Regions from separate parts of the Homo sapiens genome. Here regions 1 and 2 are each linked to region 3. Evidence: promoter capture Hi-C in human tissues and cell types (Jung and others, 2019). All regions are on one chromosome and are shown on one strand. Each heading gives the region's core, a stretch centred on a gene start or on the middle of the fragment in contact. The rest is flanking DNA. Distances are from core to core; before and after follow the strand shown. Region 1 overlaps RALGAPA1 (Ral GTPase activating protein catalytic subunit alpha 1). Region 2 overlaps RALGAPA1 (Ral GTPase activating protein catalytic subunit alpha 1). Region 3 holds the start of PPP2R3C (protein phosphatase 2 regulatory subunit B''gamma).

Evidence for each region. Contacts are between HindIII fragments. The study calls those that stand out against the background at their distance.
Region 1: a fragment that was not itself captured here is called in contact with the fragment with the promoter of PPP2R3C in region 3 in 1 of the 25 tissues and cell types used here (dorsolateral prefrontal cortex).
Region 2: a fragment that was not itself captured here is called in contact with the fragment with the promoter of PPP2R3C in region 3 in 1 of the 25 tissues and cell types used here (mesendoderm cells).

Annotation. Positions count from the first base shown.
Region 1 is chr14:35,687,437-35,691,234 of GRCh38, reverse strand. It overlaps RALGAPA1 (Ral GTPase activating protein catalytic subunit alpha 1), which reads left to right. Exons shown (of 42, transcript NM_001346249.2): 18 at 1,232-2,776. Among named protein-coding and RNA genes, the nearest start is that of SNORA101B, 74 kb to the left of the region's middle. The HindIII fragment of the contact is 3,538 bases long and covers 64-3,601 here.
Region 2 is chr14:35,671,165-35,675,312 of GRCh38, reverse strand. It overlaps RALGAPA1 (Ral GTPase activating protein catalytic subunit alpha 1), which reads left to right. Exons shown (of 42, transcript NM_001346249.2): 23 at 604-797; 24 at 1,035-1,133; 25 at 2,291-2,446; 26 at 3,796-3,924. Among named protein-coding and RNA genes, the nearest start is that of SNORA101B, 90 kb to the left of the region's middle. The HindIII fragment of the contact is 6,397 bases long and covers 1-4,148 here.
Region 3 is chr14:35,120,435-35,124,682 of GRCh38, reverse strand. It overlaps PPP2R3C (protein phosphatase 2 regulatory subunit B''gamma), which reads left to right and starts at 2,693. Exons shown (of 13, transcript NM_017917.4): 1 at 2,693-2,781. The coding sequence starts at 2,724. PRORP (protein only RNase P catalytic subunit) reads right to left here and starts at 2,131. Exons shown (of 8, transcript NM_014672.4): 1 at 2,048-2,131; 2 at 452-1,731. The coding sequence starts at 1,437. PRORP-PSMA6 (PRORP-PSMA6 readthrough) reads right to left here and starts at 2,844. Exons shown (of 15, transcript NR_182666.1): 1 at 2,631-2,844; 2 at 452-1,731. RefSeq lists enhancers at 1,638-2,147, 1,231-2,150, 2,158-2,237, 2,778-2,907, 2,151-3,070 and 1 more. The HindIII fragment of the contact is 11,618 bases long and covers 1,613-4,248 here.

The DNA.
Region 1 (3,798 bases), core at 583-3,082, 570 kb before region 3:
GATATGCAACACTAAGCCTGTTTCTCAAACTTTTTTATTGTAAATTTGATAAAGTAACTTAACCTCTCTGGGCTTCAATTTTCTCATCTGTGAGATAGTTAAATTAGATAATCTCTGAATGTCCATCTATAATAATAATAATAATTATTATTATTATTATTATTTGAGACGGAGTTTTGCTCTTGTTGCCCAGGCTGGAGTGCAGTGGCATTATTTCGGCTCACCGCAGCCTCTGCCTCATGGGTTCAAGCAGTTCTCCTGCCTCAGCCTCCCAAGTAGCTGGAATTACAGGCATGCACCACCACGCCCGGCTAGTTTTGTGTTTTTAATAGAGATGGGGTTTCTCCATGTTGGTCAGGCTGGTCTTGAACTCCCGACCTCAGGTGATCTGCCCACCTCAGCCTCCCAGAGTGCTGGGATTATAGGTGTGAGCCACCGCGCCCAGCCTATAATTCTTAAAAAGAGATGTAAGAAGCCAGAAATATAGTTTTTAGAGCTTGATGGCTGTTTAATGGAAAGGGCCAATAACAGGCAGGTAAAGTTTCTTCCTAGCAGATTTAAGTGGTGTTTTTGCCAAAAACAAAAGAATACAATTGATTTTTTAAAAAATATATTGACTTTATTTGATGTCAGTGAATAAGATTTTAATACGTAATAAAGTAAAACACCTGGGGAGAACAGTTTCCTGACAAAGAGAAATTTAGGAAGAGGGTAGAGACTTTCATTTCTAATATGTAATCAAACAGAGAAGCAAAATTTGAAGAAAAGATGCCTCTTGCCTTTTTGGGAAGGAAGCTGGAGAATTTATTAGACCCTATAAGAGTCTACAGTGGGATACTTGGATCGGCTTTCTGTGTTAAGGTGTATTTTTTCTGCTTGGAACGTAAATAAGTAGGAAAAATTTAATAGCATTTGAGTTGCTTGATTTATTGGCACAGCTCTATCTTTATCTGCACTTCCAAATGTTTCATCACCTCACTGTCTGTTTCTATGCATGTTAACATTTTAAAATGTGTTTTGGTAGTTTTCTAATTCATTGACACTACATGCTATATTGGCTTGTGCCCATCATTTTTTTAAAAAAGCAGATTTGTATTTTGATTTTTTTTTCATTGAGCTTACAAAAACTCAGATTTTTTTTAAAGCATATGCTTTAGAGCATTATTGAAATTAATAATTATTTTTTATATTTGTGTAGTTCTTCTCTACATAATTTTTTTTTCTTTTACAGATATTGATGATGCTCAAATACTTCCCCGCTCAACTAGAGTCAGACATTTTTCACAAAGTGAAGAAACTGGAAATGAAGTTTTTGGTGCTTTGAATGAGGAGCAGCCATTGCCTCGAAGTAGCAGCACTTCTGACATCTTGGAACCATTCACTGTTGAACGAGCCAAAGGTGCAGTTCCTGTCATTGACAGTTCATCCCGTCATGCACCAAGCTTGCAGAGTTCCACAGAGGCTTCTTCAATAACTAGATCCACTGAAAGCCACATCACTGATACTCATAGTAGAGAGTCTTCTCTGGAAGTTGGTGATAGCATATATGACCATCTTTGTCATTTAATAGGTCCAGTAGAACTTGCAGATTCAGCTTTTGAACAAATCCAGTACATTGACCTTGAAGGAGATGATGATCTTCTTTCCACCCTGAAAGAATATTTTAAGGAAAACCAGGAAAATCATAGTAAAAATGAGACAGGGAAAGACCCAGCTTCTCAGGAAGTGACTATTGCAGTAAATAGGGGTGAAAGATTATCCTTAGATAAATTAGAATGCACAGATCAGGAAACTGAATCAGAAAATATCACCTCTTTTGTTGGGACTCCTGAAAACCTACAGTTTCAGAAAGAACCAAACTCAGCTGTCTTCATGAGTAATATCGCACCTAACCAGTCAGACAGTTTTTTTAGAACACAAACTTCTGAAAAATCTAAGCAACTAAACACTGATAAACAGCCATCAGAGCCTAGTTTAGATAGCCCTTGTGATAAAGAAAAAAGGAAACATCTGTACAGACAAGCAGCCACAGAATTAGATGCTTGTGTTGATGTAACACTAGTTGAAAAGCTTAAGAGTGTGCAAATTAATGAAAAAATCACTGTCCCACATGTTATGCGTGCCAAGAAAGCAACACTAAAAGCACCTGTTAACCGCAGAATGCCTCATGTTACAAGTACTAGCAAACTTTCTCCAACTAAAAGGAGCTTGTCTGAAACAGTAACTCATAGAGCCAAAATCATGAAAATTGCTACTAAAAAACGAAATAGTGTTCATGTTACTTTTAGGCCATCCACTGAGTCCGTTCAGTTTTATAATCCTCTGGAAAACAAAGAGGCTCCATGGAAGATGAGACTGCGGAAGCTCGGTGGCTTTAGTAGTGGTAGCAGCAATAGCAGCACTAGCAACACCCATACCAGCACAAATAGTGCTACAGAGCTAGTAAAACCTGGTGTGTACAGACCTCTAGATACACTTGGTACTGCATCAGTAAGCAGCAAAACAGTGAAGGAATCCACAGAGATTCCCACCACCATATTACAAAAAGAAGGAATTGCAAGTAGTCAATTAGGTAGTCGTAGTACTCTTAGGTCATCAAGTCATGAGGCAGGACTACAGCAGGGCTCCCTGGGTGGCGTTTATAAAACTGTTGTACATGCTCTTTCGAAGCCGAAGGCAAATGTTTCCCCACAGAGGCAGAACAGAATGCCACCAGAGGCTCCACTGAGGGATCTGTACAGTCATGTAATGGGCTATTTTGGAAGGAAAGCTGCAGGTGAGCACTAACAGTGTGCAGAGCGCAAAAGGAGAAAGACAGCACCAGTTTGGCTTAATGCAACTGAAGCAAGCTATAAGCAATCAAAAAGCTTTGGGATGGTCACTGCTTTCTCTCTGTTTGGTTATGCATGCGCCTTTTCCCAGCTGTATTTTTCCCAGCATAGAATGTTTATTTAAATTACTAATTTCCCTTATAAGGCATTTAGTTAAACCTCTTTGCTGCTGAACAACAACATAGGAAAGTGGATATATAGGAAAATTTCAATAACCTATCAAAGACTACCTAAATCAAGTATTTTTCTGAGTGTATACCACAAGTATGGAAATTAAGATTATCAAGGAGTTACTATGCTTTCTTCCCCACCCCACTATAGTTTAAAAGGGCACCAGATATATCTAACTGATTTCACTTATTTTTACTGCTGATCTATTTGGTTTTGTATTTTTTCTTGATAGAAATTATTTTGACAACTAACATAATAGAAATCAAGGTCCTACAGCCAGCACCAACATTATAGTTAACTATCAGTGATGAGGAAATTATTTCTTAAATCTCAAAGTGAATTTAATCACTTTTCATTTAAGCCATTTCCAAACATGCTGTAGGCTTTTAGTTTTGCATTCATTTATATAGAATGCAAGTTATGTCCTTGAAACACTTTAATTACTTTGTTTTTTTCTGAGATTTTAAATGTGCATAAAGGTTTCACAGTAGCCACTCATGATTTAAATATGGAACCTCTATGGACAGATAACAGAAAGCAAGATTATGGTAACTGTTTTCTCTATCTTGAGTCAAAGTTAAAATAACTTTACATATATAGACTATTAACTTTCAGCAGTAAGGTTGGTTTTGATTTTATTTGTTTTAACATGGTTTTGTTAGCATGATTAACAACGCTGTATAATGCATCTTGCATTGAGCCATTAATGCCACCTGAGGGCAGTATTTGACAGCTTAGCAAAGCCTGGCCAGTAATATAAAGATAATGGTATTTCACAGTGAGCTTCTGACCAGTG
Region 2 (4,148 bases), core at 1,611-4,110, 550 kb before region 3:
TCCCAGCTACTTGGGAGGCTGAGGCAGGAGAATTGCGTGAACCCAGCAGACAGAGGTTGCAGTAAGTCAAGATCACGCCATTGCACTCCAGCCTGGGAGAGAGTGCAAGACTCCATCTCAAAAAGTTTATTTTTCATGCCATTATGCTAACTCTTAATGCTGGTCTGGGATGTAGCTACAAAGAAAAGGCTTAGGAAGACTTCCTACACCATCTGCCTTTAGCCTGAGGTTTTCCATTAATTTGATGATATAACCTGAAGTTGCTATTAGATAAAAGTGAGAGTATGTGCTTATAAATTTGATGTTTTTATCAAACAGATTTCTCTATCTGCATAGATAGAAATTTCTCTATCTGCAGAGTGAGTAGTAGTTACATAGAATCACTATTGAATAGCTAGTTAACATAATGCTTACAATAATTCCTTATTATTATCTCATAATAATAAGTGAGGTTTTGACCTTATCGGGAAAAAATAATGTATGTTGACATTTCTTTTATTCATTTCTGTAGATATTTAAGATTGTTAATTTAGCTTGGTTTCTTGGGGGGTTTTATGTTCAGTTCACTGAAAAATGGCTGACACTATATATTTTTTTCTATAGAAATTAGTGAATTTCCATCAGAATGTTGTAGTGTGATGGCAGGAGGTACTCTGACTGGATGGCATGCTGATGTTGCTACTGTAATGTGGCGAAGAATGCTAGGCATTTTGGGAGATGTAAATTCAATCATGGATCCTGAAATACATGCTCAAGTTTTTGATTACCTCTGTGAACTTTGGCAGAATCTAGCTAAGGTAAAAAAGAAATAGCGGATATAAGTGGAGAAGAAAATAAAAATATTTAAAAATAGAAGAAGCCTTAGAAAACATTTGTGACACCCTTTTTGACTATAAACTGGTACCCTGCATGGCAAAGTCACTTAATTGTAATTAAATAGTAAGTGTAGAAACTGGATTTGAAATTCAGTTTAAGGTAAACTGGAAGAGATAACAGTTTTCTTAGGTTTGTTGCTTTTTATTTGAAAATTACAGATTAGAGATAACCTTGGCATTTCAACTGATAACCTGACCTCCCCTTCTCCACCAGTTTTAATTCCTCCACTGAGAATTCTTACACCTTGGCTTTTTAAGGTAAGCTTAATATATAAAATATTAGTTTAAAACTTCTCATTTACTAAATCTTAAACTTTTTATAGAGATTTTGGCTATTATATAGACTTCTAGAGCACTTAGTTTTTAACCAGTATCCTTAGGAAGTCATTAGGCATTATATAGAGAAGAGAATGTGCATACTAAAATTACTCGGGATTTATTGCTTTTGATTATTTCATAAAACAAAAGTGAATATAGAGAGGTATGTCTGTATTGTATTTAACTGAAGTATAAACTTTGAGTTGTATCACAGAATATGCTGTGTATTAAAAGTTGTGACCGGGTGAGGTGACTCACACCTGTAATCGCAGCACTTTGGGAGGCTGAGCCGGGTGGATCACATGAGGTCAGGAGTTTGAGACCAGCCTGGCCAACATGGTGAAACCCTGTCTCTACTAAAAATACAAAAAATTAGCTGGGCATGGTGGTGGGCACCTGTAATCCCAGCTACTCGAGAGGCTGAGGCAGGAGAATCGCTTGAACATAGGAGGCGGAGGTTGCAGTGAGCTGAGATGGCGCCATTGCACTCCAGCCTGTGTGATGAGAGCGAAACTCCGTCTCAAAAAAAAAATTTTAATTCTTTTTTGTTTGTTTTTTAAAAGACAGGGCCTCACTCAGTCACCCAGACTTGGAGTGCAGTGGCATGATCACAGCTCACTGCAGCCTTGAACTCCTGGGCTCAAGCAATCCTCCCACTTCAGCCTTCCAAGTAGCTGAGACTACTACAGGCGTGTGCCACCGTGCCTGGCTAATTTTTTATTTTTTTGTAAAGACAGAGTTTCTCTATGTTGCCCAGGCTGGTCTCAAACTCCTGGCCTCAAGAGACCCTTCTGCCTTGGTCTTCCAAAGTGCTGGGATTACAGGCTTAAGCCACTGTGCCCAGCCAAAAGATTTAATTATTTTAAGTATTGATATGTTTGGTACATTTTCCTAAGTGGAACAGTTTATGGTTATACCTACATTGTATCATTTTGGATGATGATAATTTCACTAATCCTGAATTTTAGTTCATTAAAGAAATTGGGCCAACATGGAAATAAATGAGATTATATACATCGTTTGCTATATTCAGTTGCTTAAGTTATTTAGCAAATAGTATTTCTTTTTGAACATTAAAACTGATCTTTTAATTTTAGGCAACCATGTTGACTGATAAATATAAACAAGGTAAATTACATGCATATAAACTTATTTGTAATACAATGAAAAGAAGACAAGATGTTTCTCCAAATAGAGATTTTCTAACACATTTCTACAATATAATGCATTGTGGATTACTTCATATTGACCAGGTAACTATATATATATGTATCATCTAAGAAGTAGTTTATATCATATTATCTTTGATTCTTGATTCTGTTTAACTCTTGCTTTTTAAGGTCTAGAAGTTAAACTCTCCCCCTTATTTAGTGATTTATATACAATTTACTTCAATTTTATGACCTTATTTGTTCTTGAAACATGGTTGAAAATCAAGCTATTATTGTAGGTAGAGGATTGACTTGAGTAGTTCTCCATCTTTAATGTTGTACCAACCAGTTCACTTTTTGAAGCAATTAAACCATCCTTTGCTTAGGCTGATACCTTTCTTTAATAATATTCTAATGTACCTACTCTTAGGCATTTTGTGACTGATACTTGAGGCATATGGATTCGTTTATCTAGTTATGCAACAGTCAGGTTTTTTTCAATCTAAGAATCAGCACATCACATTTTCTTATTACTGTCAATTATATTGGCATAGTGACAGTTACATTGATTTGATAATTATATGAGGTATAATCATTAAATAGTCATAAATATAACCTTAGAATTACTTTGGGAGTCTTGATATTGGCCATAAACTAACAAGTGTAGGAGGTTGCAAGTCAGAATAATGTAAATATGTTTATCCTAATATGATGAACTCGTAGGTCATTTACAGAGTATATTAATATTAAAAGATAATATCTTTCTGAAAAATGTAAAATTTTTGCATTAATTTAAAATTAGTGTGCTACCTTGTAAACATGTCTCAAGTAAAATGACTCTCTTAATTATTAGAAGAAGAGAGCTTTTGTTTAAGATAAGTTGTAATGAATAATACAACTGAATACACTGTATCCTCATAGTAAATTCCAAAGGCAAAGTAAATGAATAATGAAGTTAGGAACATTCCCTTAAAAGTGCCTAGGTCTAGATTTCTGAGGCTTGATACCTATCATTAAAGGACTTCAGTTTATTTTAAAAAGAGAATCTTTCCAATTGTCACGTAACGGGTCATGTGGATTCAGAAATGAGAGTTATTGCACAGAAGCAACTAGGTGACAGGAGAAAACTGCTATGCAGTTTAGTTTTACATTGTGTGGGCCTTGTACTTTTAACCTTGTGAAGCAAAGAGCCTTCCTTAATCTCTAGTGTGAAAAAAATGCTGTTATTTATGCCAGTTAAATGAATGTATTTTCAGTTTACTTTCCATTGATAGAATATAATATTAAGCATGGATTATTTGGAAGAATTGAAATTAGTCTTTCCAGTTAGCCAATGTACAGTAATTACCTTTTTTATTATTTCATATGTTATCTATTTTTAATGATACTGATTAGCTGATACTCAAGATTACATATGTGATATTCTTTTTTCCTTCTTTCCTTATTCTAAGGATATTGTCAATACAATCATCAAACACTGCTCACCTCAATTTTTTTCACTTGGTTTGCCTGGTGCCACAATGCTTATTATGGATTTTATTGTAGCAGCTGGTAGAGTGGCTTCTTCAGCTTTTCTCAATGTAAGTCATTTCCTGTTCCTTATCATATAACAAACTTTAGCCAGGATTCAACTAACAAAGTTGATAAAACATAACAAGCTGATAATCAGGAAATTTTGCAATTTAATTGGAATTGATTGCTTCTCCTACATTAAAAAAAGTAAGCAAGAAATCTGAAATATAAGAAAGCACTAAAATCAGTAAAATCTGATAAGCAGAACAGGATTTAAAGTTGAGGAAATCTA
Region 3 (4,248 bases), core at 1,444-3,943:
TGATCCTTCCAAAAGGAAAAAAATGTAAAAATTAAAACTGCTATATAATTTCAGTTTTATGTGATGGGTAAAGATTAGCACAAATTATGTATGTTGTTACTTTTTTTAAAGAGAGAAAATTTTGTCGTAAAGAGAAAATAAATCTTACTAAGAGATGGAAAAAAGTATAATCAGAAGAGTGATTCTCAGCAACTAACAACAAAAAAGAATGGCTACTTTGAGGTTTAAAGTTATTAAATTAAAAATAATTAGCCAGGTATGGTGGCACATGCCTGTGGTTTTAGCTACTGAGGAGACTGAAGCGAGAGGATCACTTGAGGCCAGGAGTTTGAGGTTACAGTGAGCTATGAACACACCACTGCACTCCAGTCTGGGCAACAGAGCAAGACCCTGTCTCAAAAAAAAAAAAAATTAAAGAATAAAAACATACATATAAAAAAACCAAAATTACCTCTCAAACCATGTTTTTATACTGTGTGCAAATGACTCCCCTGGATACAGCTGATTATTTCTTAGATATGAAAGAATATCTAGTAGTTTATTTGAATAGTTATCATCCTTTATGTCTTTTCCAAAATCAAAGAAAGCTTTTAAAGTTTCCAACATAGGAACAATATCATGACCTAGCAATTCCTGATATAAATTCCAAGCTGTGTTTACATCTTGATGAAGGAGAGCTCCCTGGATACAGTCATTATAGTTCTTTTTTGAAGGAGTTATAACTTTTTTGATGTCCTCTAACAGCAACAATGCTTCTCTCCATCTGTCTGAATGGATCAATCCCCGGATGAGAAGACTGTAACCTCTAGGTTCTAAAGTCTTATATCTGGCTTTCATAATTTCAAAGACATCAATAACTTCAGATGTCTGCATATGAAAGACACAGAGATACAAATACTTGACCAGTAAATCGTAACTTACAATACCATTATTTTTGGCTGCTACCCATGCCAGCAGAGATTTAGCCACATCTATAGAGCTATGACAGCCAGCCATCTGTGAAATGATCCAACTTTCGAAACTGGTCTTTCCGGTGTTTTCTTTTAAATCTTCCTTAAGTTTATCCCACTCCTCTGAATTCAAAGGTTGTGTTGGGAGTTGAATAGTGTTCCTCACAGGTGCCAAGGCATGATCTTCAGTTTGAGAATTCATCTGTGATCTCTCCTTAGCTGCTCCAGCTAAAAAAAAATGAGGAACAGAATAAACTTGCTTATTACTGCCCTCATCTTTCCTGAGATATCTGGCCTTGGCAATCAGATTCGTTGCTTTGGTATTCTGTGGAGACATTGTTTTAAGAGAAAACAACCTCTGCTGGTTCCTGATGCCACAGCGGTCTGCCAGAAACAGCGAGACATAAGAGTGCCCTGGGCCTAGCCCAAGGTATGGGCTCTTCCAAAGCTTCGGAAAGCTTCGAATACCAAACAAATAGAAAGTCATTATGCAGTGAGATCAGCACCAGATAGTGAGAGAGATGTTGAAAAAACCCCTCTTCTATGGCAAAATTAAAGAGATTGGGGGTCGGCGGTGCAGAGTCGAAGTGGAACTTTTTAAAAGGTTTGTGTTTCTTCCTTACAGACAAATCAAGGTTCTGCTTTTGGGGCTACTTAAAAGCAAGAAGGCAGGTGAGTTTTCTCTATTAAACAACAATCCGGGGATGTCCAACGTCGCAAGCCGCAAACCAGGGGACAGAGCAGGAATCCTCTGGTGCCTCTTACATTCCAGTTCATGAACCTGAGGAAAAAGCACAAGACGGAACGCCCAGTTTTACTCACGTGGATCACAGCTGTCCTGAAAAGGAACAGATTCCCACGGGAAGCTTGCTGGAAAGGGGGTGTAAAGCCAAAACCGTATCCAGGGACCCCCAACTCCAGCCTACCACCAACAGCGGCGAAAGCCGAAGTCTAGGGGCCCTCACCCTGCATAGCTCTCTACAGACCGCAAAACTCCTCCGGTGGGGGGACGAGGAGGGAGGAGGTGGCGAGTCAGCTGCGCCAACGACTCAGGAAAGGAAGAGAGGTACAGGAAGGGCGCTGCCTAGACTGCGTACCGAACGCTGACAAATGAAGTTCACTTCATTCAACAACTCAAAGCGGCACTCAGACTTAACGCGGCCATAAACGCGGCGGAAACTACAGTGCCCACGATGCACCGCGCCAGCCCCGACCGACGGACGAGACTGACCCGGACTTAGGCGTTCCGCCTGGCCCGGCGGCGAGGAAAAAAGGCAGTTTTGAAGCATTTAGTGGCAAAAGGGGTAGGAGACGGCTGCTGAAGTGTCTACTACATTCAGGGGACCTGGAAGGCTTCCAGATATCCGCAATGAACAATGAAAAGAAATTGTGAAAGAAGGCGCTTCCCTCAAGCCGGAACTAATGAACTCCTGGGTCACGTGGTGCGCACGCGCCAAAGGCACACGATAAAGGAAAACGCGGGCTTATCGTGGCCTTTAAAATCCGGCTTGGTGAGCTTGGGTCGCCTCTGAAGGAGAACCATTTTCCATCTCTTTCATAGTTTTTTCCCCCAGTCAGCGTGGTAGCGGTATTCTCCGCGGCAGTGACAGTAATTGTTTTTGCCTCTTTAGCCAAGACTTCCGCCCTCGATCAAGATGGTGGTTGGACGGCCTTCCTAACCTTTACGGGGCCTGGCGGTGCTGACGCCTGAGCTGGTAGGGGTGGAGCAGGTAGGAAACAGCAAATGCAGAAGCTGCTGCGCGGAAGTCGGCCATGGACTGGAAAGAAGTTCTTCGTCGGCGCCTAGCGACGCCCAACACCTGTCCAAACAGTGAGTTTTGGGAGGGGCAGCCCGTTGGGATGGCCCGGCCCTAAACTCCTAGAGGTAGGGGGGAGGTGGGGAGGAGGAGCAAGGGGGAGCCGCCTTTTCCGCTTCTGTGAAACCTCCCGACAAAGGAGGCGGAGTGGAATGTGGTTTAAGGATCCCGATAGGTTTGACCCAAACTTTCCTGGGGCAGAATCTAGAGGAACGAAAAACTTAGCTTTAGTCACTGACTTCCATGGTCTTAATCTAAACTTGTGAAGAATAACTTGGAACCCCGGCTCCAACAACGCCTGAACCCCACCAGGACCTATAATTGTCCTCCTGCCTTTTTACTGTCACGCTTTTTGCTTCCCTCGTAATCCATTTTATATTTCATAATCCATTTTTCCTTTTATTTTTCTCCTTCACATTGCTTATTAACTAACCTCGTTAAATCTACCTTTCCTATTCCACACCCGCACTAAGGGCTGTTGAAAGTGGCTGGAGAAAAACAGAACCTTGGTGAGTTGTCTCACTTTTTTTTTTGAGACGGAGTCTCTTGCTCTGTCGCCCAGGCTGGCTGGAGTGCAGTGGCAGCATCTCCGCTCACTGCAACCTCTGCCTCCCGGGTTCAAGCGGTTCTTCTGCCTCAGCCTCTGGAGTAGCTGGAACTATAAGCGCGCGCAACCACGGCCGGTTAATTTTTGTATTTCTAGTAGAGACGGGGTTTCGCCATATTGGCCAGGCTGGTCTCAAACTCCTGACCTTGTGATTCGCCCACCTCGGCCTCCCAAAGTGCTGGAATTACAGACGTGAGTCACCGCGCCCCGCCGAGTTATCTCACTTTTAATACAAGTCCACTAATCTAAAGAAGGTGTTTTGGTCATGTCTACCGTGTTTTCCTGGACGTTCATTCTCCTACATTCAATTTTCATCTCCCAAACTGCCAATCTGTGTTTTCCTAAATACACTTTTTTTTTTCCGATACAGGATCTCCCTGTGTTGCCCAGGCTGGAGTGCAGCGGCGCAGTGAAGTATTGCTGCAACCTCGATTTCCTGGGCTCAAGGGATCTTCCCACCCCAGCCTCTTGAGCAGCTAGAAGTACAGGCACACGCCACCACACCCGGCTAATTTTTTATTTTTAGTGGAGATGAGGTCTTGCTATGTTGCCTGGGCTGGTCTCGAATTCCTGGCCTCAGGCAGTCTTCCTACCTCCACCTCCCAAAGTGTTGCTATTACAGACGTGAGCCGCCGCACCCAGGCAACACTCTTTTACACTATTCTTCTCATCTCCTACACCTGCAGTCTGTCCTACCCGCTTCTTACTTTAAGCTGATGAACTTGTATTTTAATATATATCTCATTAAGAAAGGAGAAGCAGTCGGCCGGGCGCGGTCGCTCAGTCCTGTAATCCCAGCACTTTGGGAGGCCGAGGCGGGCGGATCACGAGGTCAGCAGATCGAGACCATCCTGGCTAACACGGTGAAACCCCG